Regions from separate parts of the Homo sapiens genome. Here regions 2, 3, 4, 5, 6 and 7 are each linked to region 1. The links are contacts of gene promoters, found by promoter capture Hi-C in blood cells and fetal thymus (Javierre and others, 2016). All regions are on one chromosome and are shown on one strand. The core of a region is centred on a gene start or on the middle of the fragment in contact, and the rest is flanking DNA. Distances in the headings are between cores, read along the strand shown. Region 1 holds the start of CHIC2 (cysteine rich hydrophobic domain 2). Region 2 overlaps POLR2B (RNA polymerase II subunit B). Region 3 overlaps REST (RE1 silencing transcription factor). Region 4 holds the start of SRP72 (signal recognition particle 72). Region 5 overlaps PPAT (phosphoribosyl pyrophosphate amidotransferase). Region 6 has its middle 7.3 kb from the start of DCUN1D4. Region 7 overlaps DCUN1D4 (defective in cullin neddylation 1 domain containing 4).

What was found. Contacts are between HindIII fragments. The CHiCAGO score rates a contact against its expected background, and 5 or more counts as called.
Region 2: a contact is called between a fragment that was not itself captured here and the fragment with the promoter of CHIC2 in region 1, in 4 of 17 cell types (naive CD8 T cells, non-activated CD4 T cells, total CD4 T cells and 1 more). The highest score is 8.2, in naive CD8 T cells.
Region 3: a contact is called between a fragment that was not itself captured here and the fragment with the promoter of CHIC2 in region 1, in 1 of 17 cell types (non-activated CD4 T cells). The highest score is 6.0, in non-activated CD4 T cells.
Region 4: a fragment that was not itself captured here is called in contact with the fragment with the promoter of CHIC2 in region 1 in 1 of 17 cell types (non-activated CD4 T cells); the score reaches 9.4 in non-activated CD4 T cells.
Region 5: a contact is called between a fragment that was not itself captured here and the fragment with the promoter of CHIC2 in region 1, in 1 of 17 cell types (non-activated CD4 T cells). The highest score is 5.6, in non-activated CD4 T cells.
Region 6: a contact is called between a fragment that was not itself captured here and the fragment with the promoter of CHIC2 in region 1, in 3 of 17 cell types (naive CD8 T cells, non-activated CD4 T cells and total CD4 T cells). The highest score is 6.7, in naive CD8 T cells.
Region 7: a contact is called between a fragment that was not itself captured here and the fragment with the promoter of CHIC2 in region 1, in 1 of 17 cell types (naive CD4 T cells). The highest score is 5.4, in naive CD4 T cells.

Annotation. Positions count from the first base shown.
Region 1 is chr4:54,062,799-54,067,119 of GRCh38, forward strand. CHIC2 (cysteine rich hydrophobic domain 2) reads right to left here and starts at 1,807. Exons shown (of 6, transcript NM_012110.4): 1 at 1,384-1,807. The coding sequence starts at 1,502. RefSeq lists enhancers at 1,215-1,715, 3,712-4,321 and silencers at 1,515-1,644, 1,875-2,114. The HindIII fragment of the contact is 3,181 bases long and covers 631-3,811 here.
Region 2 is chr4:56,979,252-56,983,572 of GRCh38, forward strand. All of the region lies in intron 1 of POLR2B (RNA polymerase II subunit B), which reads left to right. Among named protein-coding and RNA genes, the nearest start is that of POLR2B, 2.5 kb to the left of the region's middle. RefSeq lists an enhancer at 1-18. The HindIII fragment of the contact is 2,120 bases long and covers 978-3,097 here.
Region 3 is chr4:56,914,363-56,918,683 of GRCh38, forward strand. The region is part of intron 2 of REST (RE1 silencing transcription factor); the gene reads left to right. Among named protein-coding and RNA genes, the nearest start is that of REST, 8.6 kb to the left of the region's middle. RefSeq lists an enhancer at 406-906. The HindIII fragment of the contact is 1,322 bases long and covers 1,941-3,262 here.
Region 4 is chr4:56,466,900-56,471,220 of GRCh38, forward strand. It overlaps SRP72 (signal recognition particle 72), which reads left to right and starts at 718. Exons shown (of 19, transcript NM_006947.4): 1 at 718-845; 2 at 2,754-2,874. The coding sequence starts at 737. LOC124900706 (a long non-coding RNA gene) reads right to left here and starts at 659. Exons shown (of 2, transcript XR_007058126.1): 1 at 193-659. RefSeq lists an enhancer at 563-772. The HindIII fragment of the contact is 492 bases long and covers 2,341-2,832 here.
Region 5 is chr4:56,391,375-56,395,695 of GRCh38, forward strand. It overlaps PPAT (phosphoribosyl pyrophosphate amidotransferase), which reads right to left. Exons shown (of 11, transcript NM_002703.5): 11 at 1,988-4,174. The coding sequence ends at 3,978. Among named protein-coding and RNA genes, the nearest start is that of AASDH, 6.0 kb to the left of the region's middle. The HindIII fragment of the contact is 6,954 bases long and covers 1-4,321 here.
Region 6 is chr4:51,833,651-51,837,971 of GRCh38, forward strand. It overlaps a transcript of DCUN1D4 not described here. Among named protein-coding and RNA genes, the nearest start is that of DCUN1D4, 7.3 kb to the right of the region's middle. The HindIII fragment of the contact is 7,583 bases long and covers 1-4,321 here.
Region 7 is chr4:51,849,343-51,853,663 of GRCh38, forward strand. The region is part of intron 1 of DCUN1D4 (defective in cullin neddylation 1 domain containing 4); the gene reads left to right. Among named protein-coding and RNA genes, the nearest start is that of DCUN1D4, 8.4 kb to the left of the region's middle. RefSeq lists an enhancer at 4,113-4,321. The HindIII fragment of the contact is 7,268 bases long and covers 1-4,321 here.

The DNA.
Region 1 (4,321 bases), core at 557-3,056:
AAAGTCAAAATAAAATCAAATGGCAGGTTATGAATTCTGTGATATATGTTAAAAGTTTAATATCCATGATATTTGGTTATACTTCTTAAGCTGGTGACAACACTTAGAAAGTATTATTGTGGTGAATTAAATTCCACTGTCTTGTCATGGTGCTGTGATGGCAATTATGCAGTGTTTTTACCCTGTTAAGTCACCTGAACATAAACTAACAGGTACTAAAGAAATTAAAGCATTACATAAGCATACTCAAACAACAATATGGCTGGTCATACGAGAAATGCAATTATTTTGCTGACAAACTTATATGAGAAGTCTTACTGTTTCCCTAAGTTATTCACAGCACATCCCACTCACTCTTCACCAAAATATAATGAAGACTATTCCAGACATTCTCAGACTTGCTGGCTCTTTTGTTTCACTGAAAAGGTGAAGAAGTACAGAGATACCTGACAAGTATGGAAGTCTGATCTATTATTTGAACAAGAGATCTAAAATGAGAGAGTATCAATGTAATACATCAAGTGGTACAAAACTGTGGACTTCATAGTGAAACATTACAAAACTTCCTGCTTCCGGACAGCTCATTATTTGGTTCAAGGCTTCACATTCCTTTGTCATGGTCTTTCCGAAAGCTTTCATTCCTTATTAATATCAGACTTTTAATGTTACTAGTGGGACTTTCCAAATTAACAAGCCCCAAGTTCGTGCCCCAAGGAGGAGCTTCAGGACTACAATTTTCCCTCAGTAACCTGAGCAGAGTGTATGTCCCTCACGTAGTTGTTGTTGTTGTTGTTGTAAACATATTTCTTTCTGTATATCTTAAATTTGTGTTCAACTATATATTTTTATCACGTACAATTACAAGAACTTGCATTAGTTCTGCGGAAATTAGTGGAAAAACTGGGAGACCTGTGGGTATGTGTGAAATAGACACGAAACGGAGCTTCGCTGCCAATTGTCACTGGGGTCTCACACGGCCCAGATCTGGCCTCTGAGCCATGTCACTGGGTGCAAAGGCACAGACAACCACAGGGTAACTGGGCGAGAAAACAAGGAGGCTCCCTGTCAATACACGTACTTCCACCCTGAAGAGGAAGGGTGGCCCGCAGGGCAGACCCTAATGAAAACCCGTGCCTACTGGGATCGTCACATCGCCCGGGCCTGTAGGGCCTGCTAAAGGGGTGTGTGGAGGAGGAAGGACAGCGTCCGTCCCCACTTCGGAGACCCAAACAAATGAAAATAAGCCAAGTTCTCACTTCCTGGTTGCCTACTCTTTCGGAAGGCCCCCGACACCAGACGGACACAGGGGAAACGGGGCTCCCGTGGAGTAACGGGGCCCACCCCAGCCCGCACCTCCCGCCCTCGCCCTCCTCCGGGCCTTACACGGTGACGTGACCGGAGCCGCGGACGACCACCGGGTCCGGCGAGTACTTGAGCAGCTGCTCCTCCAGGGCCCGCTCCTCGTCCTCCTCTTCCTCATAGATTTCGTCGAAATCCGCCATCCTGAGCCTCCGAGCTCCCCTGCCCAAAGGGCCTGACTCCCGGGGTTGGCGCCGGGGTACCGGCGGGCGAGGCGGCGGAGGCTGAGGGGAGTCGCCGCTGCCGCCGGCTCCGAGGCCGCGGAGTTCGCTGTCGGCTGTCTCGGCTCCGGCTACAGAGGGGATGGGGTCTGGACCGTCGCCGCCACCGCCGCCGCCATTACCATCAGCAATAACAACAACACAATGTCAACATCCGCCCAGAGGCCGACACCTCCACAAGCACAGACGCCGCTGCCGCCGCCGCAGCAGCAGCAACTCAGGAAACCACAGCAACAGCCCGAGCCACCCGCAGCGGGAGCAGCCGGCTACGGCATCGCGAGACTTCCCGGGCCAACGGGCGGGCGGGCGCGTGCGTGGGCGCGTGGGCGAGCGGACTGGCTGGCGGGCGGGCGGGCGCGCGCACGTGCGGCCTCGCGCGCTCCCAGGCCACCGTCTTTCCTCTGCTTCTACCCGCAGACGGCGACCGGGGCGCGCGCTCCCGCCGGCGGGCCCCCCTCCGCCGACTTCTGGGTGGCGGACCCTGGGGGCGGCGGCTCCGCTGACTGGAGGCCGCGACCCGCGACTCCGACAACGCAGCTTGGAATGTCCAGTGGGACATGCAGTTCCCCAAAGTCATCTCTAACCAAAACAAACAACTGAAAAGAAAAGCCCTGGCTGGAATAGACACATTTTTGTGCGTGTCATTGCCAGTTTATCTAATAATCGCATCTCGCTTTTCCTCAGGTTTTGAGTCTATGATGAGAACCAGAGTCTCTTTTTTCCCAATTTGAGGAGTCCAGCAGAGACACTGCAAACATTTGTGCTCACCACAGGATTTTTCAAGACATCTCCAAATTCAAACATCTTATCCCTTGATCCCCTTAAGTATAATCCAATATATGAGGCCAGCGATGCTGGTATTTTTTTTTTTTTCTTACAAGAAATCTCACCGTAGTCATGCTATGAAAAAAAACTGATAAATTACCTGGATTCCATATTAGAAGATGCAGTTTCTTGCCCCAACTCTCTCACCAAACATAACCTGGTTTTTGTTGTTGTTTCCTTAAAATCTTAGGGAATTCCTTTCCTTTTCTTACCAGTTCCTACCACAAAAAAGACCTGAAAGAAAGGGCAGAGGAGAGGAAGAAAAGGAGGCAGGAAGGAAGAAAGGATAGAAGGAAGGACGAGAAGAATGAAAGAAGAATGGGAGAGAAAGAAAGAAGGGGAGGAAGGAAGGAAAAGGTTTAATGGAGTCTACTTAGCTGCCTAGTAACAGTTGAACGGTCACTTTGGGTACTTGGTTTCATTAAGCATATAAACAGCACAGGGGAAGGAGTGGGCTTCTGAGAAGAGAGTCCTGGACAGTGAGGATACACCATGGGAGAAGAAAGGATAGTTCTACTGAGCCCAGCGCTGGTCAGGCTCTTCAAGTGCAGTGTTCATGTCACAGTAGTCGGCTTTAGATGGGTCACTGTTGACGTGGAGAAAGTGCAAAGGAGGTCAATGAGGACAGTGAGAGATGCCAACCTCCTTTTGGAAACAACTGAAGGAAATGAGTGTGGTTAGCCAAGAAAAAATGAAGGAAAAATACAGTAGTTGTATCAGACTTATTGTATCCCTCCCTGGAGGGTATTTGTTCATTCAACAAATATCTACTGAACTCTAGCTATGTGGCAGGCACTGTGGACGTGTGTGAATGAGGCACAGGCCCTGACTTCTGGTAGCTTATCTATTGTTAAGGCAAGCAATTGTCATCTCTGCCAGGGGCTCATGGAGGAGGACACAGGAAGTGTCAGTGGGGCACACAGGAGGCAGCTTGGTCTGGTGTTTAACAATGTGTGTTCTGGAACCTGACTACCTGGCCTTGAATGTCAGCTCTGCCACTTACTGTGTGACCCTAGACAAGCCACTTAACTTCCCTGTTCAGTACCTGCCCCATTGGGATGCTCAGCAGATTCAAGGGCTTAAGATCGGTGAAGTGCCTAGAAGAAGGCCCAGTACACAATAAATACGGGGTAATAGGTGATGCTTAAGGCTCCCTAGCTTATCAACCCTGTGAGGGTTACCACAGCATTATGTAATATTTTACTGCTTATAAAGCACGTACATAATATATCATTTAATATTCCCCCAAGAACCTGTGAGGTAAGCAAAGAGGGTGTATTTATTTTCAGATATGCTATGTTTCAGAGATGCTATGATATGCTATATTTCAGAGATGCTATGTGGCTTTCTCAAGGCCATGTGACGATTTAAGATTTAATGGTCTAATTGAGTATACTGGTGGTCCAAGCTTTCCTGAATGTCTTTTTTTTTTTTTTTTTTAAGACAGAGTCTCACTCTCTCACCTAGGCTGGTGTGCAGTGGCACCATCATAGCTCACTGCAGCCTTGAACTCCTCAGCTCAAGCGATCCTCCCTCCTCAGCCTCTGAATTTCCTCCTTGGCAGGAACCAGGAGACTAGTGGCTGCACTCAGTTAAAGGAACAGCTGCAAATGGGAAGATAAGAAAGAGAATAAGAGGAAATAAGGTCAGTATGTCCTGGCACAGCCCACACCTGGCTGTGGCTGAGAATTCACCCTTATGTAGAAACAGTGGCCAAGATAAGGGGCTAGTGCCCCAAAGTATCTAAATCATCACATAGCTGACAACTTCCCAAAGACGGAGGAAGCCACACAGAGCTCCTTAGAACTCCAGCACCTTCCACAGTTCCTGCTTCAGAAAAGGAGCTTAATAAATGTTATCTGAATTGAGATACAGTGTTACTAGTGCTCTTTCCAGAACACTGTGACTTAATTAGG
Region 2 (4,321 bases), core at 788-3,287, 2.9 Mb after region 1:
TCCTCGTTTCCTGTGGTGAAGTAGCGTGCAGAATCGTAAGATAAATTACGTTTTGAATTTGAAGCAAAGGGCACCCTTTAAAAATTTTCCTTAAAGCCACAGTCGACTTAACGAATAGCTCAATTGTTGAGTGTCAGCCTGTGTCAGGCAGTGTGGAAGGTCCTGGAAATATTCCGGGACAGAGAATATCGGGGGGTGGGGGTGGCGGGGGGGACTCGGTTTAGTCTGACATTTCTTCATACTGTTTGTAAGTCAAAGTAAATTGTCTTAAAGGATGACTTTTAACTTCCTCTTCTCACAATGTCACAGTTCTCAGATGATATGTATTCTGCTGCACTGGGCCAATGTATAATACCTGTTTGTTTGCGCATATGGAATTCTTAGTAGTGGCCGAGCGCGGTGGCTCCCGTCAGCACTTTGGGAGGCCGAGATGTGCAGATCGCTTGAGACCAACCTGACAAACATGGGGAAATCCTGTATCTACTAAAAATACAAAAATTAGCCTAGTGTGATGGCGTGCGCCTGTAATCCCAGCTACTCGGGAGGCTGAGGCCGGACGATCGCTTGAGCCCAGGAGGCGGAGTTTGCAGTGAGCTGAGATCGCACCACTACACCACAGCCTGAGTGACAGAGTTAGACTGTCTCAAAAAAAAAAAAAAAAAATTCTTAGTTGAGTCTAGTGTATTTTCGTAGCCGCCTTTTCCATTCTCCATATCTGCTAATTCAAACCTTATTTTCTTATAGCTCTCAATTCCTTGGCCACCCCCTACATCTCCTCTCTCTATTCCCTCAGGTACTTCTGATAAATCAGATGGAAAAAATTGAAGCAAAAGCTTAATTTTTTTTTTTTTTTTTTAAGAGATGGGGTCTGGCCATGTTGCCCAGGCTGGTCTCAAACTCCTGAGGTCAAACCATCTGCCTGTCTCGGCCTCCCAAAGTGCTGGGATTACAAGCATGAGCCAATGTGCCCAGCCAAAAGCTTAAACTTTTAAAGCTGTTTAAACTTCTGTCTCATTTATATCTTGTGTTGTAGAAATTTATTAGCATCATTATATTCCTTGTTCTTTTTTAACTACTATCTCAGTAGAAGAAAAATTCGAAAAAAAAGATTTTTAAAGCATAATTTTTGGCTGGGTAATATATTCTCATAGCTCACAAGCCAGAAAATTTAAAAATGTTAAAGTGGGGTGGCTGGTGCAGTGGCTCACGCCTGTTATCCCAGCATTTTGGGAGTCTGAGGCGGGTGGATTACTTGAGCTCAGGAGTTCGAGAGCAGCCTGGGCAACATGGGAGACCCCTCTCTATAAGAAATAGAAAAATTAGCTGGGCGTGGTCTTGCTCACCTATAGTCCCAGCTACTTGTGGGGCTGAGGCTGGAGGATCGCTTGAGCCTGGGAAGTTGACACTGCTATGAGCTGAGAACAAAGTGAGACCTTGTCTCAAAAAAAACAAGTTAAAGTGTCACGTCTCCTTCTTACCCACCATCTGCCCAGTTTGAACTCTCCACAGTGGGTAACTACAGTTATAACAGTTATAAGAGGTTCTTATCACTCCACAGTTTCTTTTTTTTTTTTTGATGGTCTTGCTCTGTTGCCCAGGCTTGAGTGTGGTGGCGCAATCTCGGCTCACTGTAACCTCCATCTCCCAGGTTCAAGCAGTTCTCCTGCCTCAGCCTCCCGAGTAGCTGAGATTACAGGCGTACACCACCGTGCCCAGCTAATTTTAGTATTTTTAGTAGAGATGGTTTCTCCACGTTGGCCAGGCTGATCTCAAACTCCTGACCTCAGGTGATTCACCTGCCTCGGCCTCCGAAAGTGCTGGGATTGCAGGTGTGAACCTCCAAGCCCAGCCTCCACAGTTTCCTTATGCATATTTAAGCAAATATAAATGGGATTTTCTCTTTTTTTAAAGACAGTAATATTCACACTTTTCTCCACTTTTAGATTTTGTTTAATGTGTCCAGGAGATTTTCGTATCAGTACACAGAAAGCATCGCGCCCCCCCTCCCGTGTCCCCACCCCCAGTTACTTAGTTTGTGTGGATGTACCATAACTTAAGTAGTCTCTTGATGGATATTCGGTTTATTTCTAGTCATTTTCGGGTTCAAACAGTGCTGTAAATGAATAATCTTGTACGTATAATTTGCCCAAGTATGTCTGTGGGATACATTTCTACATATAAAATTGTCAGGTCAAATGATATGCACGTTTAACATTTTGCTAGATGATGCCAAGTGACCACCATAGTGGTGATTGTACTAATTTTGCATTCTTATTAGCAATGTATAATGATCCTGTGGAAAAAGAGTTTATCAGGGTTGCTTTAGCAGTGAACCTACATTTTATTGCCCATGTCCTCTGAAATGTTTATTAGATAACGTCCTCATCAGTTTTCAGTCACTATGTGAAAATGTCAGATTTCTGTCATCCACATGGAAACAAGTTAAATTCTTTTCATTGTTACCTTTTTCTTCTAGTATTTTACCTTTCTTCTTTCACTCACAGCCAAACTTATAAAAATAATAAGCTGTCCTTGTTTCTAATTTTCATCTTTCATGTGCTTTTCAACTGATTACAATATGTTTCTACTCATGCTACTACATTAAGATAGCTCTAAGATTGACAGCGACTTCTCAATTGATAAATGAGATGGATATTTAAAACTTATCTAAACCCTGTGGTCTTCAAAACTGTTGATGACATCTTCCCGGAAACTCACTCAGCTTTCTAGCGACATCACTTTCACTTGATTTTTCTTATCTGACTTTTCTCATTTTCTTTCCTGTTCACATTCTCCTTGGGTGATCTCATCCATTTTCCATTGTTTCAGTTACCATCTGTATGCGGATAACTTCTGAATGTGTATACTTCTAGTTTAAAATCTGGGGTATCTAACTGCCACTAGCCAACTAGGATATCTCCCAGGCTGCTTAACCTTGTCAACTGCCCAAACTGAGCTAATTATTTTCTTTTGCTATTCCCCTCCCAAAGCCACTGCCTCCTGTCTTCTCTGTCTCGGTGAAGGGCACATTTGGCCCTCTGTATCTGTAGGTTTCACATCTGTATATTCAATTAACCTTGGATTGAAAATATTAAAAAGCTTGAGGCCAGGAATTTGAGACCAGCCTGGGCAACATAGGGAGACCTCATCTCTACAAAAAAATTTAAAAAATTAGCTGGGCATGGTGGCATGTGCCTGTGATCCCAGCTCCTCGGGATACTGAGGTGGGAGGACTGCTTGAGCCCTAAGAATTTGAGGCTACAGTGAGCTGTGATCACACCACTGCACTTCAGCCTGGGTAACAGCAAGGCCCTGTCTCAAAAAACAAAAAAGAGAATATTAAAAAAAAATTGCGTCCTTGTAAAAATGTACAGACTTTTTTTTTCTTGCCATTATTCCATAAACATTACAAGTAAATAATTATTTATATAGCATTTACATTGTATTAGGTATTATAAATAATCTAGAGATAATTTAAAAGATACAGGAGGATGTGTGCCTAGGGTATATAACAGTGCCATTTCATGTCAGGGACTTAAGCATCTGTGTTTGGTATCTATGGGAGGTCCTGAAACCAGTCTCCAATGGACACTGAGGTACAACTGTTGTACCCTCTGTTGTTGAAACCGAAAGCCTGGGCATCATTTTTGACTCCTCTCTTTCACCTCTATATCTAATCAGTCACCAAGCCCTGTTGGTTCTGTCTCCTAAATATGTCAAATCTGGCCACTTCTCTATCCCCTCCACCATCATTCTAGTTCATGTTGCTGCCATCCCTTGCCTAGATTACTCCTAACTGATTTGTATACTTCCAATCCACTCTCCACACTGGCCATAGGGATCTTTCAGAAATGAAAATCTGACCTAGCCACAACCCTGCTAAACTCATATCTCTTGGTAAAGGCCAAACTCTTCTTATTCCACTTCCAACTTCACAATCTGTGCTTCCGCTACATTGGCCTTCTATCATTCTTTGAATATGCCATCCTGTCTTGCATTATGGGGTCTTTTGCACAATTTGTTTTTTTCTATTTGGTAGGATTCTTTCTTGACTCCTACCTTTGTCCCTTCCTTTTGCCTGATTACTCCTGTTTATAACACGAGATCTCTGCTCAGGTTTTTTTTTTTTTTTTTTTTTTGAGATGGAGTTTCCCTTTGTCCCCCAGGCTGGAGTGCAGTGGTGTGATATCGGCTCACTGCAACCTCTGCCTCCCAGGTTCAAGTGATTCTTCGCCTCAGCCTCCTGAGTAGCTGGGATTTCAGGGATGCGCCACCATGCCCTTCTAATTTTTGTATTTTTAGTAGAGACGGGGTTTCACCA
Region 3 (4,321 bases), core at 1,352-3,851, 2.9 Mb after region 1:
AAGCCCCAGCAGATGGATGGCTCATGTGTTGAATGCTTTAAAATTTAGTCCAGTAAAAGAATTTGTAGTCCCTTTGGAATTTGTCATAAGCTGTGATTGATTGTCTCGATGCTTTGAAACCATTCGATTTCAGAAGTAAAGGTCAAGCATTACAAAAATACATAAAGTAGGAAATGAAAGTTACTTGGGGACACAACCCCATTAATCACTTGACAGTTTGAATTAGACAGACTGTTAGACTAAACCAGCCTTACCTACAATATCTTAAATCCCAGCCATCATATATACTAAACTCATAAATAAGTACACCATATTCATTTAGCTGGGATTACAGGTGCCTTCCACCATGCCCGGCTAATTTTTGTATTTTCAGTAGAGATGTGGTTTCACCGTGTTGGCCAGGCTAGTCTTGAACTCCTGACCTCAGGTCGTCTGCCCACCTCAGCCTCCTGAAGTGCTGGGATTACAGGCCTGAGCCACCAAGCCTGGCCTGGTTTATTTGGTCTTAATGCTTATTTTTCCCCAGTATTACCTTCATTCTGATTTTTTTTTTTTTTAACTTTTTTTTTTTTTTTTTTTTTGAGACAGTTTTACTCTTGTCGCCCAGGGTGGAGTGCAATGGTGCAATCTCGGCTCACTGCAACCTCCGCCTCCCAGGTACAAGCAATTATCCTGCCTCAGCCTCCTGAGTAGCTGGGATTCCAGGCATGCGCCACCACACCTGCTAATTTTGTATTTTTAGTAGAGACAAGGTTTCTCCATGTTGGGCAGGCTGGTCTCGAACTCCCGGCCTCAAGTGATCCACCCGCCGCGGCCTCCCAAAGATTACAGGCGTGAGCCACCACGCCTGGCCAATTTTGTGTGTGTGTGTGTGTGTATTTTTTTTTTTTTTTTTTTTTTTGAGATGGAGTCTTGCTCTGTTGCTCAGGCTGGAGTGCAATGGCGTGATCTCTGTTCACTGCAACCTCTGCCTCCAGGGCTTAAGTGATTCTCCTGCCTCAGCCTCCCGAGGAGCTGGGATTACAGGTGCGTGCCACCACGCCCAGCTAATTTTTTAAAAAATTTTTAGTAGAGACAGCGTTTCACCATGTTGGCCAGGCTGGTCTCGACCTCCTGACCTTGTGATCAGCTGACCTCGGCCTCTCAAGGTGCTGGAATTACAAGCGTGAGCCACCAAACCTGGCCTTTATTACATTTTAAAACAATTTGGTGATGTATAGATTGAAGGTTAATATTTTGATTATGTAAATTCTGAAAGTATCTCTGGTATTAAATGGATAGTTCTGAAAATTATGGAAAATAAACTCATCTGGTGCGGAAGAGTAGAGACAGAAAAGACAGGAATCACTTAAATTGATAGTGTTCAGGAATTACTTCTCATTTCCACTTGCATTAGTAAGTAGCCCAGTTTTCTGATTGGCTTAGTGGGCTTAATTGTGTTTCTTGTGCCCTTCTATTCTGTGCTAATCTTCAGAACAATCCATTGAGGAAAATAGCATCTGTGATGATAGTTCATGTTTACACAGGGGAAAACTTCAGATTTAAAAGGCTGAAGTGATGTTCCCAAGGTCATATACAAGTATCATTTATAGCCGTTCCACGATGGCTCACGCCTGTAATCCTAGCACTTTGGGAGGATGAGGCAGGAGAATCGCTTGAACCTGGGAGGTGGAGGTTGCAGTGAGTCGAGATTGTGCAACTGCACTCCAGCCTGGGGGACAGAGTGAGACTCTGTCTCAAAAACAAACTACAAGTAGCATTTAAAGTTCAGCAATCTCGACTCACTGCAACCTCCACCAAAAGGGTGGGGGGAGCTGGGGACTTTCATTCTGGTTGACCTCTTTAGTTTAGTGGTTTTGATATTTAACTTGTTCACAAAATCTACTTTTAAAGAAAACCTTTTTGCCTGTATGTGTAACTGAAAAATCAGTAGGTAACTAAGCTTTCTGGAGGAGAGTTATGCCTAGTTTGTGGAATTACACAGATAAAGTAATCTGTTGTAAAGAATTTAAAAGCAGGCTGGGCGAGATGGCTCATGCCTGTAATCCCAGCACCTTGGGAGGCAGGCAGATCACCTGAGGTTGGGAGTTTGAGACCAGCCTGGTCAGCATGGTGAAACCCTGTCTCTACTAAAAATACAACACTTAGCCTGTAGTCCCAGCTTCTCGGGAGGCTGAGGCAGGAGAATCACTTGAACCCAAGAGGCAGAGGTTGCAGTGAGCCAAAATCGCGCCACTGCACTCCAGCCTGGGCGACAGAGCGAGACTGCGTCTCAAAAAAAAATAATAATAAAATAAAAGAATTTAAAAGTAAATTATCTTTGATTCTTCAAGTTTATCTGCAGTGGTATTTAATTTTTTATTGAGATACAGTTTACATATGCAGTTCACTATATATTGGCCTGTTCTGAATATTTCACACAAGTGGAATCATAATAAGCAGTCTGAATAATGCTGCTATGAATATTCATGTTTAAGTTTTGTGTGGACGTATGTTTTTGTTTCTTTTGGATATATACCTAAGCGTGAGATTGTGGGGCAGTATAGTAGCAACATTTTGGGTAATTGCCAAACTGTTTTCCAAATTAGCCATGCCATTTTACAATCCCACCAGCAATGTGTGAGGGTTCCAATTTCAGCACATCCTTAGCAATAATACTGTTAACATCTGTCTTTGTGATTACAGCTATCTTAGTGGATATGAAGTCTTCATCTCCTTGTGGTTTTGATTTGCATTTCCCTCACTGCTAATGATAATGTTCATCTTTTCATGTGTTTATTGGCTATTTGTAAATCTTTTTTTTACAGAATTCCATTAACATAAAACTATCTTAATTGTTCCAGGTCATAAGGTAGGCATTCTGTTGCTACCAACTCTTTACAGCTAATTCGTAGCTACCAGCGAATTACAGCAGAATAGTTATGAGGAACACATTTCCCATCTATCACCATTCTTTTTGTTGTTGTTTGTTTTTTGTTTTAAGACAGGGTCTCGCTCTGTTGCCCTGTGTGGAGTGCAGTGGTGTGGTCACGGCTCACTGAAGCCTCGGCCTTCTGGGCTCAAATGATCCGCCTACCTCCCAAAGTGCTGGGATTACAGGCATGAGCCACCATGCCTGGCCTGTTCTTTTTTCTGTGTACCACCTTTTCCTTATTTTATTAGACACATTTGTTTCTGTCTTAGACAAAATTGATAGCTTACATTTATTGAGGGCTTTACTATGTGCCAGACACAGTGTTAAATGCTCTGCATGTATTATTTAAGCTTTTGCAATTACAGGAAATGAAGATTCTGTTACTTTTACAGATGGGGAAACGGTGTTTTAGTAGCTTTACCAAGGTCATAATTATCTTGTGTTTGGAGACTATATTAAAACAAATTGTATACCTTTTTTTAAAAGCTTGTTTTGCCGGGTGTGGCGGCTCATGCCTGTAATCCCAGCACTTTGGGAGGCCGAGGTGAGTGGATCACGAGGTCAGGAGATCGAGACCATCCTGGCTAACAAGGTGAAACCCCGTCTCTGCTAAAAATACCAAAAAATTAGCCGGGCATGGTGGCGGGCGCCTGTAGTCCCAGCTACTCAGGAGGCTGAGGCAGGAGAATGGTGTGAACCCAGGAGGCATAGCTTGCAGTGAGCCGAGATCTCACCAGTGCACTCCAGCATGGGCAACAGAGTGAGACTCCGTCTCAAAAAAAAAAAAAAAAAGGCTTGTTTTGTTGTTGACAGCCATGTCTAAAAAGAATATACGTTTCCTACCTTTGAGTCTTAAATTCTTCAGTATTAAATCACTGGCCTCTAGTCTTCAGTCCCTGTGGCTTTTATAATTTGTTTTAAAAATTGATGACTGGTTGGGCATGGTGGCTCATGCCCGTAATCCCAGCACTTTGGGAGGCCAATATAGGCGGATTGCTTGAGCCCAGAAGTTCGAGACCAGTCTGGGCAACATGGCAAAACCTGGTCTCTACCCAAAAAAAAAAAAAATTAGCTGGGCTTGGTGGCACACGCCTATGGTCCCAGCTACTTAGGAGGCTGAAGTGGGAGGATCTGTTGAGCCCGGGAGGTCCAGGCTGCAGAAGCTACGTTCATGCCACCACACTCCAGTCTGGGCAACAGAGCGAGACCCTGTCTCATAAAAAACAATAAAAAGAAAATTGATGACCTTCTCTTAAATTTTTCTTTTTAGCTTAATGTTTTTTATTTATTTTTATTTTTAGAGACAGGCTCTCTCTCTGTACTCCAGGCTGGAGTATAGTGGTGCCGTCATAGCTCATTGCAGCCTCAAACTCTGGGCTCAAGTGATCCTCCCGCGTCAGCCTCCCA
Region 4 (4,321 bases), core at 1,337-3,836, 2.4 Mb after region 1:
AACAGACTCCCAGAAGCTAAGTAACTTGTTTATTGTCAGACATCTAGTGAGTCGCAGAGCCAGGGAACTGACCACGGGCATTTTCACCCCATTACCCTTCCAGCTTATTGCCGACTGCTCCCGAAGGGAGCGAAAAGGACAGGCAAAGGGTTTCACCAAACCCTTTGTAATGGGAGATTCTTGCCTTCTTACCTTTCCTCACGTTTGCTTCTCTGCCAGAATGTCTTCCCGCACTTTCCCCAGAACCCAAGTTCTCCTAATCATCTTTCAAGATCCCTTTCCCTCAACCACAGATGAGCCGTGCCTATTTCTCCTTCAAATGACTCCCTATGGCTTCTAGTTGGTAGTCTTTTATTTACCACCTCATAGTCCTTTTATTTATATCCCATAAATGATCGTCCGGCCCCGCACCGTGGGACCAGGACGCTGCCTCGACCATGGCGGTCTCCTGGAAACAGGCTGCTTTGAGCCGAAACTGGTGACCGTTTCCCAACCCCGTCCAGGAGTCCGACGCCTCTTTTCTCCAGGCCAACTTCAAGTGAGGTGTATCAACTCTATCCGCACAAATTTCTTGCCACGAGAGCAGAAGATTATGATCTCTGATGCTGCCTTAGGGCTGAAGACACTCCCAACTCGGCGACGCTTAGCAATCATCGACTTCCTCCTCCTCTTGGCTGCCTCGGAGATCCTGTTCCGGGGCAGAGGTCTCCCCGCCCCGCCCCTCGTCTCCTCCAAGATGGCGAGCGGCGGCAGCGGGGGGGTGTCAGTACCTGCGCTGTGGAGTGAAGTGAACCGGTATGGCCAGAACGGCGACTTCACGCGCGCTCTCAAGACCGTCAATAAGAGTAAGTGTCGGGGTGGGCACTGGGGCGGGCCCAGGCCGGCTGGAGGATGCGGCCTGTTTCCGGCGCGCGAGACCACCTCGCGCGGGAGGCACGGGAAGGGGAGACCCCCGAAACCCCCCCGTCTATTGTCCGCCCGGCTCGGGCCCTAGCGCCCGGAAGACGCAGGTCTCACTCCTCGGCTTCACCAGGCCAGCCTGGGGTCCCTGGTTGCTTACAGCCACGTGTACTTCTCTTTTTACCCTCCGCGGGAAGCGAGGGAAGGTTTTAAAGAGACCGCAGCTCCCGGAGTCCATTTCAAACTGTTTTCTTATTTGACTCCTTTGCTGCTTTATTTCACAAATATTCCAAAGTGCCTCCTTTTCTTCTTCGTCTTGAGCGCAGTGATCAGGACTCTATTGCTGAGGGAGCTTGTTCTCTTTGGCCGCTAAAGGGGGAGGAACCTGCTTGGGACACGTAGTTTAGAGGCTGGTGCTAACCAGGTGGAAGCTGTACGGGTTCTACGGGGCGAGAGGAAAGGGCTGGATCTGGATGTCAGGCCTGTCATTCCCATAGATGAGATCTCTTCAGTGTTATTAAGTTAGGAAATATGTGTGTGGAAGCACCAACACTTGAAATAATGTCGGAAGAAAAGTTTGGCCTGTTTTTTTGCCCTGTAAGGGATGATTTCGGTTTTTACCGCCTTTGGTGTGAGGTTTAATTCATCATATTCTTTTGTTCCTTACTACATACCTGGAATATGGCCATGCTGCTTAATGTTCTCGGTGGTGCGCAGTTCTTCTCTACTGAAGATACAGCCTGTGCATGTTAGATTTGGAAATGTAATTACCAAGGCAGGGCTTAGCTGTTCAGAGTAGCAGTAACCTAAAAGGTGTGTCAGTAACATGCAAAGCTATCTAAGTAATTTTCAACACTCTAGTACTGGGTTAACGTGAAAAGTAGTGATTGTGCCCACAGTGCACTTTTGGTGATTTCAGACATTGAGGAAAATAGCTACGAATTAGAATTATTTGATCCCTAAATTTGTTTGAATTAACTCTAGCCTTCCAACCAGTACTGTATACTTAGTATAGTATTTTGCAGGAATTCTTTAATCAGCAAAGATTGTCAACTTGTTTACCAGTATGTTTTCTTAATTGGTAGAAATTCTTGTGATTCTTTGAGAATTGGACTTCTGTAGTTGCACAGGAGCAAGAGTAACTATGATCCTGGTCATTTTAACACCGAACAGTTGTTAGCGTTGAAACTTGCCACCTGAGTTCTTCCTTATACTTTGGTCATCTTAGTTGAAAAGGGGAAATTTTAATGATTTTTGGAAACGTTGCCAGCAAGATAAATTGCCTTTGTATTATACTTTATAAGATTTTTCCAAAATATTCATTTCATATTGTCAGTAACCTTATTAAATAGGTAATGCTTTTCTAATCATTTTGTAGCTAAGAAAACTGAGATTTGGCTGTTAAGTGATATGCCCAATACCTCAAAGCATTTAGTGGCAAGCTTGCACCAAACCTAGGTCATTTGCTTCCAAATTCTACCTGAACTTTTTCCCTGTGAAGTAATGAACTATGTAGAATGTAGCATGCATTTCAAGATGAAATATCTGGAGAAATTGCTTCTTTCTTCTTTATTTCACTGCACTTTTTTGGTACATGTATATTGGGAATCTTTATCTCATTGAAAATTTAATCTATAACTCTCCTTATTGTCACTTCTTAAGTTAAAAGCAAAGATTAGTTGTTTTCTGGGTTTGTTTTGTTTTGTTGCTGTTTCTTCCAGTTGTTCTGACCAATTATTTCTGTTGCAATAAAAGTAGAAATTTAGCTTTCGGAGAGACAGGGTGGGAAAATTTAGTAAAAATGTGAAAAGGAAATGGATTTAAAAATGACTTTTCCTAAAATTGTTCTCTAGTACTACAGATCAACAAAGATGACGTAACTGCCCTGCATTGTAAAGTGGTATGCCTTATCCAGAATGGAAGTTTCAAGGAAGCTTTGAATGTCATCAATACTCACACCAAAGTGTTAGCCAAGTAAGTGATTCAGTTAGTTGCTTGTACAGTTATTAGAAACACTTACTATAGCTATAATCTCTTCCATGTTTTTTCCCAACTATTTGCTGATTTTTTTTAACGTTTTTTTCCTTCCTTTTTTTCCCCCCTTTTGCTTGTCAATAATGTTTCTGAACTGGAAGGAATACTAGTAACTTCTGTTTTTTTCAGCCTTAGAGAGTTTTTTTTTTTTTTTTTAACCACTGTGTTTCCTTTGAACCGCTAAGGAGGTGAACCATAGAGAGTTGTGGGGCATAATTATGAGTCGTTGGAGGATGTAGCAAGAATAACTCAGTCGAAGTTTCTTTACTGTTATACCTAGGCTCCAAAAAAATATGTATTGAAATTAAGTTTGAAGCATATTAATGGGATACTGGTTTATAAGGTGCAGAACAATATATATTATACTTCCTTTTACAAGAGGAGGAGGATATAAAAATTTATATATGCATTTGCCTGTATTTGCAAAACAAACAGTATAAAGAGAAACAATGAATAGTCATTTGTGGGAGGCCTAAGAGGGCGGATCACGAGGTCAGGGGTTTGAGACCAGACCGAGCAATATGGTGAAACCCCATGTCTACTGAAGATACAAAAAATTAGCTGGGTATGGTGGTGTGCACCTGTATTCCCAGTTACTTGGGAGGCTGAGGCAGGAGAATCACTTGAACCCAGGAGGCAGAGGCTGCAGTGAGCTGAGATCGTGCCATTGCACTCCAGCCTGGGTGACGGGGAGACTCCGTCTCAAAAAAAAAAAAAAGTCATTTGTAGGAGGTAATAGGAACAGGTTAGATTTGGGTAGCAGTGGGAATAAAGCCTCTTAGTGTATCTCTTTTTCTTTTTATATTTGAGGCGTATAAATGTGTTAGAGATTAAAAATTAATTGTAAACTTTATTAAAAATAAAAGGGAAATAGAGGCAATGCTGCTTTTCTCCTATTAAATATGTTTGCTAAAATTCAGTCTCTTGATTTTGGGCTATTTTGTGAGAAAAGAGACATTTTCAAAAACATTTTGTCAATGAGTCTTGGATAAAAGTTTTTTTTTTTTTTTTTTGGGAGGAGTCTTGCTCTGTCGCCCAGGCTGGTGGAACCTCCACCTTCCGGGTTCACGCGATTCTCCTGCCTCAGCCTCCCAAGTAGCTGTGATTACAGATGTGCACCACCACGCCCAGCTAATTTTTGTAATTTTAGTAGAGACAGGGTTTTGCCGTGTTGGCCAGGCTGGTCTTGAACTCCTCACCTCAAGTGATCTGCCCACCTTGGCTTCCCAAAGTGCTGGGATTACAGGCATGAGCCACCACACCTGGCTCAAAAATAAATTTTTTGTTAGGTAAGTAAATAAAGGACATTAGCCTTTGCTTTGATAAATATTTTTCCTCATGGATTATGGTTGAAACATCAACAATGAGGTATCACATTAATGTAGAT
Region 5 (4,321 bases), core at 464-2,963, 2.3 Mb after region 1:
ATAAAAATAAACCTCACTGTTTGTTTTAACAATAACAAGCGTGGTAAGGGTGGTGTCAGTCCATAAGTTAGATAGGCAGTTGCTAGGCAGATGTCGTTGCAGAAGTATGTGTGTGTGTGTGTGTGTTGTGTTTAAGGTTGTGGTGGCCTTTGTGCAGGTTGTAAATTTTTGTAGTCTTTTGATAGTTCTTGTTATCAACCATATGTACATGAGAACCCTTCCCCTTCATGGCGTTTCCTGGCTCCGTTTGCCAGGGTTTTAATACGAGTGACTCCATTTTGAATCTGACAACTTTCACATTTCCCCTTTTGATCAAGGTCTTTCTCAAAAGCATCACTGATCAATCATCCTGTATTTAGGTTTTGATATCTCTTGGTGCCAGTCTGCCCTCATGTTGAAGGGAGTCACTGGTAACTAGGAATTAGCATCAAAACCCTTTAGCCACATTTGAACAACAAAAGAGGTTTGGAGGGAGTGGATCTCAGGCTAAGTCTACCTGGAGTCCACTGTTAAGTTCAATTCTGTCTGTTCCATAGGCACTGTCTATCATCTCAAAGTGCTGGGAGAGCATTATTCTCTTAGGAGTTGCATTTCTATGCAAATTTGACAAGAAACAGGTATAAAGTTCTTAAAAAAAAAAAAAAGAAAATACAAAGTAACAATCTCAGCATAATAGTTTTCAGCCGTGAACCTAGGCTTAAAGACAACCAGTTGAATAAATCAAATGATCATGAAGAATTAGGTGAGACTTATTATACCATGTGGGCTATTTTCTTATTTTGTGTATATAAATTCCCCAAAGGAATGTATCCAGGTACAGCATGTAGTATGAGCAAAAGCACAGACATCTCTTTGTTTAGCTGGTACACAGCAATCCTATTACTTAGCATTCCATGACTGGCTTGAATTAAAGCAGAGAGAGCTAACTCTGTTTTAAAAAAGACCATTAGTACAATTTGAACAAAAAGTTTACTGAGGATGTTGCCAGTATTACCCCCTGGGTGGACTAAAGGATTTATGAAGTCAGATTCTGTCAAGTCACCCACAATATCTACCGATTGTGAAATTATCCTGCCAAATCAAAGAGGTAGGCATAAACAAGGAAGAATTAAGAGGGGCAAGAGTGTCATTAGGATGGGGAGTTATGTTCCATCATCTTGGGAAAAGCTGCCCACAGTATGGAGATGTTAGCTTTTCATTCTGGTTTACAGTTTTAATGTCTCTGGTTATAGCATTGGGCAGTTTTGTGAACCTTTGGGCATGAGATTTCTCCCTTAAAATTCAGTTAAGTTTGAGCTTGGGCTTTAAGAACATAGCAAGTCTCGTTTTTAGTAATTCTATGGAAGAAAGTTGGATTGGAGGAACCTAGAAGAATTAAAGATCCAGTCCAGCGACCAAGGTTTACCTAGTTGCACAGAAATTTTCTTAACACTGGCAGGTGCCCTACTAGTAATCTTTCTTGTCTGTGACCAGTTTATCCTTAACATGGGAGACTTTTTCTTTGGATACCTTCAATATTTTCAGAGTGGTATTTTCAGAGTGGTGCCTTTCACTTAGTTAATATGCATTTATGTTCCTTCTGTCATTTAATGGCTTGATTGCTCATTTCTTTTAAGCACTGAATAATATTCTATTGTCTGAATGTACTACAGTTTATCTATTCATTTACCTACCCACCCTGACACTTTGAATCTAATCCTGCTCTTCCATGACACTCCCTCTTTCCCCATAGTGCTTCCTAGGAACTTGCCACGATGTAGTGCTTACTTAGTACTGCTTTTCTAATTACTTAATTTGTCCCTCATAGTCAACCAGCAGTTTTGCCTGGTTCATAAGAGATGGCCTATTTATTGAAATGCCTGGATCAGAGAAATAAGATATGACTAGCTGGTGCCAAGAATGGAGCCTGGAAGTTGTCTCCATGCTGTTTACCATAAAGCACTAACTAAAGTCACTATTTAAAAAAAAAAAAAAAAGGACACACATATTTAAACATACTTATTACACATATTTATCAACAAGGCATCACAAATAAGTCACAAAAAGTAGGCTTAGTTTAGTTCACAATATAAATCCCGTGAAAACACATTTTTCATCTCTGCAGTTTATAATACTCTACGTATATGAATTTAAAGCAGTTAAACAACATTTGAGATTAAATTGGTAAAAAAAAATTGTAATTGAATTCAGACTTCAGAAAATTGTGAAGTAAAAGGCCATGATGGAGAAATATTAAGAATCTGTAGAATTACTAAACTGTCACAGTATTATTTTCCTTTACAAAAGCATCTCAGTAAAACAAAAACTACAGAAAACGCAAAGTAAAATCAGAGATTTTGGTTTAGTACTTTCCCTGAGTCTCTTGTTTTAAAAATCAAAGTAAGGCCAGTTCAAAATTGACCCACAGGTCTTGCCTCCTCCATGCTGCCATGGGGAGTACATTTAAGACAAGAGGCTACGCATGTTGAGGTGGTCCCAGGGCTTTATTCAAATGCCAATTTGCCCGTGTCACTGCCACAGGGTTATCTGACCCACTGCTGCATGTGGGCTTAAAGAGCTGTCAAAATTTTATCTTGGCCTGCTATAATATAATATGCGAGACTATATACCAAAGGAAGACAAACAGTTTCAGTTATTAATAAATATTAAATTTCTAAATGGATCTGGACACTATATACATCAAATTATGGTAACATAACAGAAACAAACACTTTTATGTTTAAAAATTCTTACATAAACAAAGGTTTGGGGTCAAGTCATCTTAAACTTCTAATCTCAGATGTTACAAGAAAAAACTTCAAAAAAGAAATCAAATTCATTAGATCTTAATATAGTAGAAAAAAGTGATTATAAGATGATACTTGGACTTGGATTGTAAGTTGATACTAATTCCCCAAAGTGGTTGTCTCTTTGATCCTTAAACAAAACTGGCCCCTATTGTGTCTGTACTTGATCACTTAATTGCAATAATATTTATGTGTATGTGTACATGTATATGTACATCTACATGTATATATGTTTGCAAGTGATCAAGCACTTCATTAAAAAAAGCATATGATAATTAATTAAATTAAGGATAAAGGGATTGTTTGAATCTAAAAATTTGGTTTTTATTTCAAATGTACCAGGTTACTTGCTGAGCTTATAGTATCAGGGCACTAAATACTATGGATCACATTTTCTAGTCAAATGTAGGAAAAACTTTTTCACAGATTTTTACAACCCTTTTTAGGACATCTCAAAGAGAGATGGCAAAGATCTGCCAATTATGTCTCCTTCCATCATAATGAAATCTTAATTAATTGTAAACTAATTTCAAAAAGTTAACAATCATTAGCTTTCTGAAAGCTAACAATCATGAGTTGTCTTAAAATCAGAAGTGAAATGATGGCTCAAATCACAAAAGTATGACACTTATTCACATTCTTATTAATTATTTAATAAGTATCCCATTGCACATGTGGGGAAACTGAGGCACCAGATTATTATTATTTTTTTTTAAAGATTTGTCTACAGTTAGACAGGGAAGCCAAGGTCATAACTACAGCCAGAACTGTAGAGGCTAGACACCTATGAGGTATAATGTATTCTATTCAAACTTTGTGTGAAATGGTATATTTAACTCACCTGTCTTGTTGGCATCACCTCTCCTTAACCCTAACTTCTTGCAAACCCTTTAAAGCATGGACTTGGGAAATGTCAGTGACCACCTGCCTTCTCTGACCAGGTTAAAAAGGCTAGCCAATGCTTGTGTAAAAAAAAGAACACCACATATTGTTGTATTATATGCAATTGGAAATGTTCAGTTATCGCACTTTGGTATCCTTTTCAGAAAAAAAAAAAATCTCAAAACTTATAAACATAAGCATGGCATTTTACATTGTACCAACTGAGTAACAGTAAATAGATGAGGTGTGACCACTATAACTTCTTGACCAACTTTCTATCTTGAAACTACACACATCCAACCCTACCAGCTACCATTCTAATTCTACAGGATATTTTCCAGTGAGACAAGCTGTACAATGACCACTCTTTTCAAAACATTCCAGACCATTTCCATTTTCTTGGATCATAATATCGTGCTTTTTCTCTTTCTGTTTTTTAAACTTTATCCCTTCTTGTACAGATGAAACCAGTCCTTCTACTGACAGATACACAACACTGTTTGCTCCTAAAGAAAGAGGGAAAAATAAAAATGTAATAAGAATTCCTTTAGAAAGGAAGAAACGCGTCAACAGAGAATAGTTACAAACAGAATAATTTAAGCTAGGATAAATTTCTCCTTTAGCCTTTCTTTAAAAAAAAAAAAAAGGAAAAA
Region 6 (4,321 bases), core at 671-3,170, 2.2 Mb before region 1:
AACAACTCCAGATGTCCCCCAAACAGCCCACTGATGCCCACAGGCTGGCCACTTCTGTGTCTTCCTTTCCTCACCTGTGAAAGGGGAGAATGTGCTGAGCTCACCTCTGAGATTATCTAGCCCCAAGATTCCATTCCCTTTTGTTCTGGTTCTGGTTCTGGTTCTCCTGCAAAATTCTGTTCTAGTGCTGGAGGCAGTAAGCGGAAAAAGACATGACTGTGGGGAGCCTCAGTCAAGGAAGGCTTAATGGAGGTGAGCTTTAAGCTGTGGCATCAAGGTGGATGAGGATTTGTATACCAAGAGTAGAAGGGGGGAGATTTTGCAGAGTGGGAGCCTGGCTTGGGGAAGTATTTTAGGTTTTGGTGTTGAGCCATTTGTTTGTTAGGAGTCTTTCTCTCTCTCTCTCTCTCTCTCTCTCTCTCTCTCTCTCTCTCTCTTTTCTTTTCTTCTTTCTTTTTTTTTTCTTTTTTTTTTTTTTGCTGTAAATCTGTTTGCAAGGGGTAATATCTTAACTCATCTATATTTCTCCCCTAACCGAGAACAGCAAGCCAATCATCCACAAGGATCTGAGGGAATGAGACGTTGGAAAAGCAAGTTTTGATAAGGGCAAGTTAATCAAAATAGGTCCTAAATACAAACATGTCTAGGGTGTCTGAATTAGGCTGATTCCCTTGGGGTCTATACTTCGTATGTGTGCTGGGGGTTTTGGGGGTGGTAGTTTGTGCTCCAGTAGCACAAACTGAGAGTGCTTCAGGGAGGCAGGGAAGAAAGAAGCATCTCCATTTCATGATGCTGAAAGGACATGAGGCTTTTACACACCCGACTGGCCCTATACCCTTCCCTAGATCATTAAAATAGAATAATCTTGGCACTAGTCTATTCTCCTTCTGAGTCTTCAGGCTCCTTCTCCACGGCTTTCCTCAAGGATGTTGTTCAAGCTCTTTTTAATCTTCTTCAGCCTATTCACAAGTTTAGGGAACAAAGAGTGAGGTTTGCCTTTACTCGCTGAGAATGGGCCTTGTCCCGAAAATGGGAGCAGTCTGTCCAGGAGGGCCACCCACCAAGAGCCATGGTCAGAGGCCCTGGGCACCCGGGACAGGAAGCTGGAAAGGGGAGCAGAGGCTCCCAAAGAGGATGTGGGAGAATGGGAGCAAATGACGCACGTCTGATCCATGCACAATGGCAATCCTTTAAAGTCGCATTGCTTGTAACTACACTCTGCTACTTAGGGACCTACTCTTACATATGCCAACTTGTGGTCCTGTTTCCAGATCCTCTAATCTGCTTATCAAGGAAAAGAATAAAGGCCCATACCCTGATATTGGGGAAACTGTGTTTCATGTTGCCTGTAATGGTGGGCAGAGAGAATACAGGAGATTTGCCTTGGACTCCAAAGACTATGCTAGGTGTTTACTGATGCTAGGAAAAAAAGCACAGCTTTCACATTAAAGAATTTGGAATCTGTGTTGGGGATGCAGGTAGCGGGTGGGCAAGCAGCCCTCTGTAAAATGTTATCAAAGAGGCAACATAGCACAGTGAGTAAAAATACCAATCTGAAGCTCATCTGCTAGGATTTCATTCTCTGACTTCCATCACTTACTAGCTGTGTGTCTTTGAGAAAGTTACTTTACCTCTCTGTGCTTCAGTGTTTTCACCCATAAAGTGGGTTTTACAAAAATGTCTACCTCTTGGGATTGTTGGGAAGATTAATGACTTAACATGAGTACTTGAGACAGTACCTGCTACAAAGTCAGTGGTACTTAAAATGTTTGCCAATATTTCTATTCCCCAATCTGTTATCTGTGGATTTGAAATGTTTCTCAAAGCTAAAGCTATAAAATGTGAATGGAGGTTTAGGAACCACTGAGGTTGTGGTGATGGTGCTTTGAAGCCAGAAAAAGTGCTTGTGAGATGGAAGAGTAAAGAATAAGAGAGAAGCTATTGTGGGGGCCCAAGGCTGGACTTGTAGGCTAAGACTAGCCTGTGGGGTGGGGACAGGGCAGCTGGGAGGTCTGGGGCATTTCTGGGGCTTGAGGAGCTGCTTGGGGCCTCGGGTTGAGGGTGAGGGAATGCCATGATGAGATGAGAGAGATGGCAAAGGAAGACTGTGGGTGGGGGTACCTGTGTCTGGGTGTGGGTGGCCTCACAAGAAGCAGTTCTGACTAGACCCCTGTTTGGAGCTGGAATTGGGTAAAATTTCGAAAGAGATGAAATCTATTCTTGGCATTTCATCTCCAAGAGCTCTTCTCCTCTCTTGCTTCATGTAAAGTACCTTCCCACTGCCTTAAAATACTGGCCCCCCAAGCCAAGCCTTCCTCCTCCCACTGCTCCACAGCCTGAAACTGTTCACTTAACCCACCAGCCCCCTAACAGAATTCCCATCATTTGAGTGCAGGCTCAGATGTCAACCAGACTCGGGAGGAAAGCTAACAGAGTGGAACTAATCTCTCACTAACAAAATTACTGAGAGCCATGGATTGTTCCCTAAAGCCCCTGGCTTTTAAAAATAAAATACTTGTTAACTTGAATGTTTAATCTAGGAATTCTTAACTCAGGAGCTGGTGGGGTAGCATGAGTGGGTTGCAGGCCTTTGATAATCATCACTGTGAATGATTAGTAAAAGGGGTCTGTGACCCCTAAAATGTTAAGGACCATTTGCTTTAACCTGTCTTAGCTGAGGCAGTGTAACAAAGTAAAATGTAAGCATTCGGGTTAGTTGGAAATAAATATTTTTCAATGGGGTAAGCTAGTGGTTTGCATGTGTTTGTGTGCGTGCCTGCAGATGAACATATGTGTGTGTGTCCAAATTTATTTCTTTTTCAATTTTGGAACCATAGATTTTTCTTCAGTGCTTGGATTCATTGCTTTCCTCCCACCAACATAGCCCCTGTGGTAGATTCAACTGGGGGTTCAGATCTGAGTGTTGGGCAGAACGGGGTGGCTGAGGCGGCTGTAACCCGGTTGTAGGGTCTGGAATCTGCTTAATCATGGGTTTTTGACATACTTCATGCTCTTCCCCACTAGGACAGGAAGTTCTTACTTCCATAACACATTATCATCACCAAGGAAGTGAGCACATATTTTCCACAGCTCCCATCCTCCTCTTCCCTCCCCCATTTCCTATTGCTGTCTGCCTTCCCCATCCACTCTCCCAGAATGCTTCACTTTGCCATAATGAGATGCTCAGCTGCCATGCAGCCACCAACAACCGGAGATGGATGGGGTCTCCTGTACTGCCCTGAGAGGGATGTTAGAAAGACACTGTATTCATGGTAGCAGGCTAGAGAAGGCAAGGAGAAATTAAGAGCCTGACAATACACAGAAGCCATTATCCAAATAAAATGATTATTCTTTCTGTCCAGCCCCTGCTAGCTGGAGTAATTGAAACAATGCTATATTTATGAAAAACACCATAAAGGTCATGCATTGTTTAGACTCAGTTGGAAAATTGCACCTTCTGAGATCAAATTTAATGCAGCATCATTAGGACTTGATTAGCTCAATGCAGAATAAGGTGAAAGTACTCAATTCAGAGAAGAACATGTGGTAATGAATGAATACATTTTTATTCAAATACTTTGTTAATTCCCTAGGCAGGTGTGATTTCCATAAAATAAAAGGTCCTGAGTAAAAAGGAAAAGAGTCAGTTTAAGAATTCTATGGCTGTACTGGAATAAAATATTAGCAAAAAGACTTGCTAATGCTACCCTGATAGTGATGTGTTAAGAAATCTTAGGCCGGGCGCGGTGGCTCACGCCTGTAATCCCAGCACTTTGGGAGGCCGAGGCGGGCGGATCACGAGGTCAGGAGATCGAGACCACGGTGAAACCCCGTCTCTACTAAAAATACAAAGAATTAGCCGGGCGCAGTGGCGGGCGCCTGTAGTCCCAACTACTCGGGAGGCTGAGGCAGGAGAATGGCGTGAACCCGGAAGGCGGAGCTTGCAGTGAGCGGAGATCGCGCCACAGCACTCCCGCCTGGGCGACAGAACGAGACTCCGTCTCAAAAAAAAAAAAAAAAAAAAAAAAAAAAAAAGAAATCTTAGAAGTTAGAAATAATTTACAAATAAATGATATTTTCTCTATATCCAGGAGAGGCAAAAAAAAATCATTGCTAAACGAAATTAAAACTGAAACACAGATGTCAAATATAATTGGAAAATTCTTAGCTTTTCTGAGAGATTTCTAAGATGGCTCCTTCATGAGGAAAGATATCAGGATTTTCTAGAAAATTTAAAAGTATAGGGCCAGGCACTATTGCTCATACCTGCAATCCCAGCACTTTGAGAGGCTTGAGGCGGGCAGATCACTTGAAGTCAGGA
Region 7 (4,321 bases), core at 1,166-3,665, 2.2 Mb before region 1:
TTAGGCATTGTTATGGCCAGGGGGAGATTCTGTGAACTGTCTAATAGCCGCCTCCCCTTTTTTTAAATCACTTTTCTGTTTAAATTACCTAGAATTAGTTTCTGATGCTCTCAACTAAGAATTCTGATACTTCAGCATCCAGACTTGTCACTGTCGCTGGTCAGATACGTGGTAGAAGCCCTTGTGAAGAGCAGTGATGTATCTTTTTCATCCTGGCTGCCTGTACATTCTGGTCAGAGGTGACCCAGAGGACTGGAGGAGGACACAGTCGATATCAGCTGTGGGTCGTGGGAGCTGTGTTTGCTGGTGGTCAGGCAGGACTCCCGAACCACACACTAGCCCAGCCCACTGGGTCTCATCATGTGCCACTCTTTACTGCTGCTTTTTCCTAATTCTTTGTCCCCCAAAAGTTGGGATGCCTAGGAGCTAATACATAACTCCTTGTGCATTTTTTTTTTGGCTCTGATGTGGGAATATTAGCTACAGAAATATGTGTGTGTGTGCGTGCGTGTGTGTGTGTGCGTGTTTTAGTGGAATGTTTATTTTGTTTAGCCAAAAATTACATCTGATGTACCAAATACCTTTTTAGTCAACATTATTTAGGTATAATTTCACGTATTATAAAATTATACTCATTTTAAGTGTTGTTGGGTGAATTTACTAAAGATATAGAACATTTCATTACCCCAAAAGTTCCCTTGTGTCCCCTTGTAGTCAGTGCTTCTCCTCCTGCCCCACTACCACAATTGTTGGCTTTTAACATATGTTACCTTAGGCCTCCTCCATATTAGCTGATGATTTGTCACTTTGCTGTTCCTGAGGATATTACAGTATAATAAAGGCATGATAAATCTCTCGTTTTTACTGAACTATGAAATCCAAAGAAAAACTATCAGTGCTGTATAAATTATCAGTCTGATAAATAATACTTTGCCGCACAGAAGTGTCTTGAGTTAGATGACTTGTTCTGGTGAGCGGCTTTCCAGTGGATGGCTTTTCTGGCTTCTCTGTGGCCTGTAGACATGCAGGGCTCGGGTTTTCTCCCTGGATGTGATGATGTCTTTTAATTGTTATCTGGGTCAGGTTGGGAGGCAAGAAAGCCAAAATGGCTGAATTCAAATCCTTGCTCTGTCATCTCCTAGCCAAGGGACTGGAGTAGAGTTACCCAGCTGCTCTGTGTGCGCTTCAGAGCCCTCATGCCTAAAAATTGCCTGTTGAAGGCTGTTCAGTCACCAAGTGTTTATTGGGTATCTACTATGTACCAGGCCCTGCTCTTCATATTTCATGAAGTTTTCCTTTTAGTGTAGGGGAGGGGGCAGATAGTAACAAGTAAATTGTGTAATACGTCAGATGGTGATAGGTTCTGTAGAGAAAAACAGCAGGGAAGGGGTGCATGCAGGCACCCCTGTGTGCGGGCGTGGGGTGGGGTGGAGGGTGTTGTAATTTTAAATAGTGGAGCCAGGAAAGGCTTCACTAAGGAGGTTTTAAGCTAAGCCCTGATGGAGCTGAGGGGCCATTCCAGGCAGAGAGAATACAAATGCAGAAGCTCAGAGTGGGGAGCAGGCCTATATTTGAGGAACAGCAGAGGCTGGGGTGCTTAGAGTTGTGGGGGAGGGCAGAGGGAAGAAAGTAGGAGGCAAAAATCATAAGTGGTCCAAAGGATTAAATGAGATGAAACACGTAAAGTGTTTTTGATGCTTACAATTACTGTGTGATGACAGTCTCCTAGGTAGCCTTTAAAAAATCACTCTTGAGAAGAAAAGTTATAAGAAAGAACAGAACCAAATGAGGCATTCCCTCACTCAGCCATTCAGCAAACATTCAAGGGGATTTTTGCTGCCAGGTGCTGCTGTCACAGGCAGGACTGTGTGGGGGAGACCGGGGCTTCAGGAGCTTCCTTCAGTGAGTTCATTGTGGAGACAGAAGGAATGGATGCATGGGACGATGATGCCTGCTAGGTTAGATGGATGCCCCGGGGGCTTTGAGAACATGTGGGGAATGGTTAGCAGTTGTCATGTGAGTTTTAGCTTTTGAAGTTGGATTATGTGAAGAACAGGATGTGTATGCATGTGCAGGTGGCATATGGGGTCAGGTGGGAGCTTTCCAAGCCCAGCGACAACATGGCATGGTGGGGACAGAGAACTGTGGCAGGAGAGTGGGTGTTTGGTAGGCTAGAGTGGAGGGGAAGGTGAGGTGCAGGGCTAGGCAGGAGCTGGTGGCAGGGGTGGGGTGGGGTCGGTGGGAAGAACTCAAAAGAGGCACCAGGGAGAGTGTATGAGTGGAAAGGAACTGAGAGAAGGAAAGAGAAGTCCCAGGTGGGGCACAGGGAGGGAGGAGGAGCAAAGGGGAATGGGGAGGGACTAACACGAATTCAGTGATGATCTTGGATTTGCTTCAACTGCTTTGCCTGCATTAACTCATTTAATCCTCACAGCAACCCTCAATAAGTTAGGGACTGTTATTATCTCTGTTTCACAGATGAGGACGCTGAGGTGTAGAAAGGTTAACTCCCCTTCTCAAGGTCACACAGCTTATAAGTGGTGAATTGAGATTCTAACTCAAGCATTCTGACTCCATGGTCTTGGTAACCCTCTACTGCCACTGAAATCATTCTTAACATTTTGTTTGTGCTTTTCATTGAACCCTGATTGGAACACTGCATGTATATTGGAATTCTTTTTTTTTCTTTTGTCACTGGCCTATGAATGATGCTGACAGAGCCAGCTGATGGATTATCTCTTGGTTCTTTTCTTCTTGGAATGAGTCCCAGCAGGATCAGGATCTGGGATTTCTGAGTCTCTTCTTTCCCATTCTTCTTCATCCCCTCTCATTTTTGCTGGTTTGCTTACAATGAGAGTAGACATTTAAAAACTGATTTTAAGTGGGAAACTGAAGAATTGTGGCAAAGTATTTTCATACTCTTAACTAATGAAATAGTCATTTTTAGTCTTCTTAGATTTTATTTAAATAGACTTTGTTATTTTTAAATATAGGAGATCTCAACGACATTGCAGCAAAACTAGAAAACAACTACTAACATCATTTTTACATAACATTTTTGAAATTATTTTTATTTTTTTTCCTGTAGGTTAGGGTAAGTTTAATGTCTTGTCCTACATATGCAATTCCCAAAATTAAGCCACAGATCACTTCTTAATTATTAATTAAACAGGAAACGGGATAGTTGTACATTTAAGTCCAATAGCTAGTGAATTAGTAGTTTTAAACACCATCACCTTGTGATCTCTTCTGCCCTGTCTTTTTGTAGTTCTAGGTTCAGTCTGTCTCAGTGTCTTCTACGTTCTAAATAATAATAGGGATGAAAACAATTAACGTTGATTGGCACATAATATGGACCAGCACTGTGCTAAGTGCTTGACATGCACCATCTCATTTAATAATCCCCACAGTAGCTTCGCAAAGAGGTTCTGTTATTTCGGCTTTATGGATGAGGACACGGGCACAGTGAAGTTTGGAAGCATGTACAGGGTCACTCAGTTGGGACTCAGTTGGAGCTCTGACTCCAACCCAGGGCTTTATGTTATCAGAGCTGATTGACATTCTTTAACCAAAATCTGGGCTCATTTAACATTAGTGAGATGGAAAGATTTTTACTGTGAACTACCCAGTGATTCTGTGTGCTTCAGTGGGTAGTACAGATCATTTGTGCTCACCTTCAGTGGGTAGGTGGGGTGAGGAGAATGAAGCTAGGGCCCTTTGTACCATGTCACATTGGGAGTGCAGCCAGACGGGTGTCCTGAAGTGACTGAGTCCCTTGGGATAGCACCAGCAGGCACAGGCAGTGTGGTGGGCGATGGATGGATGCTGCCTCCCTTGGGCGGATGGTTTCTTCTCCCAGCCCCTTTTTTGAGTCCTGCAAGAGGAAGAAAAAGCCAGCAGCAATATGCTTGGATAGCTTTAACTTTGGATCTGTGTTCAGTGAAAATGCTGAGTCACTTTGAATGACCTGTTCCCTTATCAATTTTCTCCTTTGGCTTTTGTGCCTTGTAAATAGCAAATATTTATTGATGAGGAGAATGAAGTTAGTTAACACCTTCCTCACCTGCTACTTTCAATTCTTTTGGTTTTTACCCTGCTTTTCAGCTCTGCAATCTTTTTCCTGGACCTTGGCCTTTTCATCGTGTGCTGATAGGGTATGGTGAATGAGTTAGATTCCTGTCTAGCAGTGCTGAGGTTGTTCCAGGAGTGGATTGGCTACTGGCACGCCAGGGATTGAGTTGAGAGTCAGGGATAGAATCTACTTCTCTGGTTGCATGTTAGAATCACCTGGGCTGCTTGAGAAACACGTGGTGCCCCACAC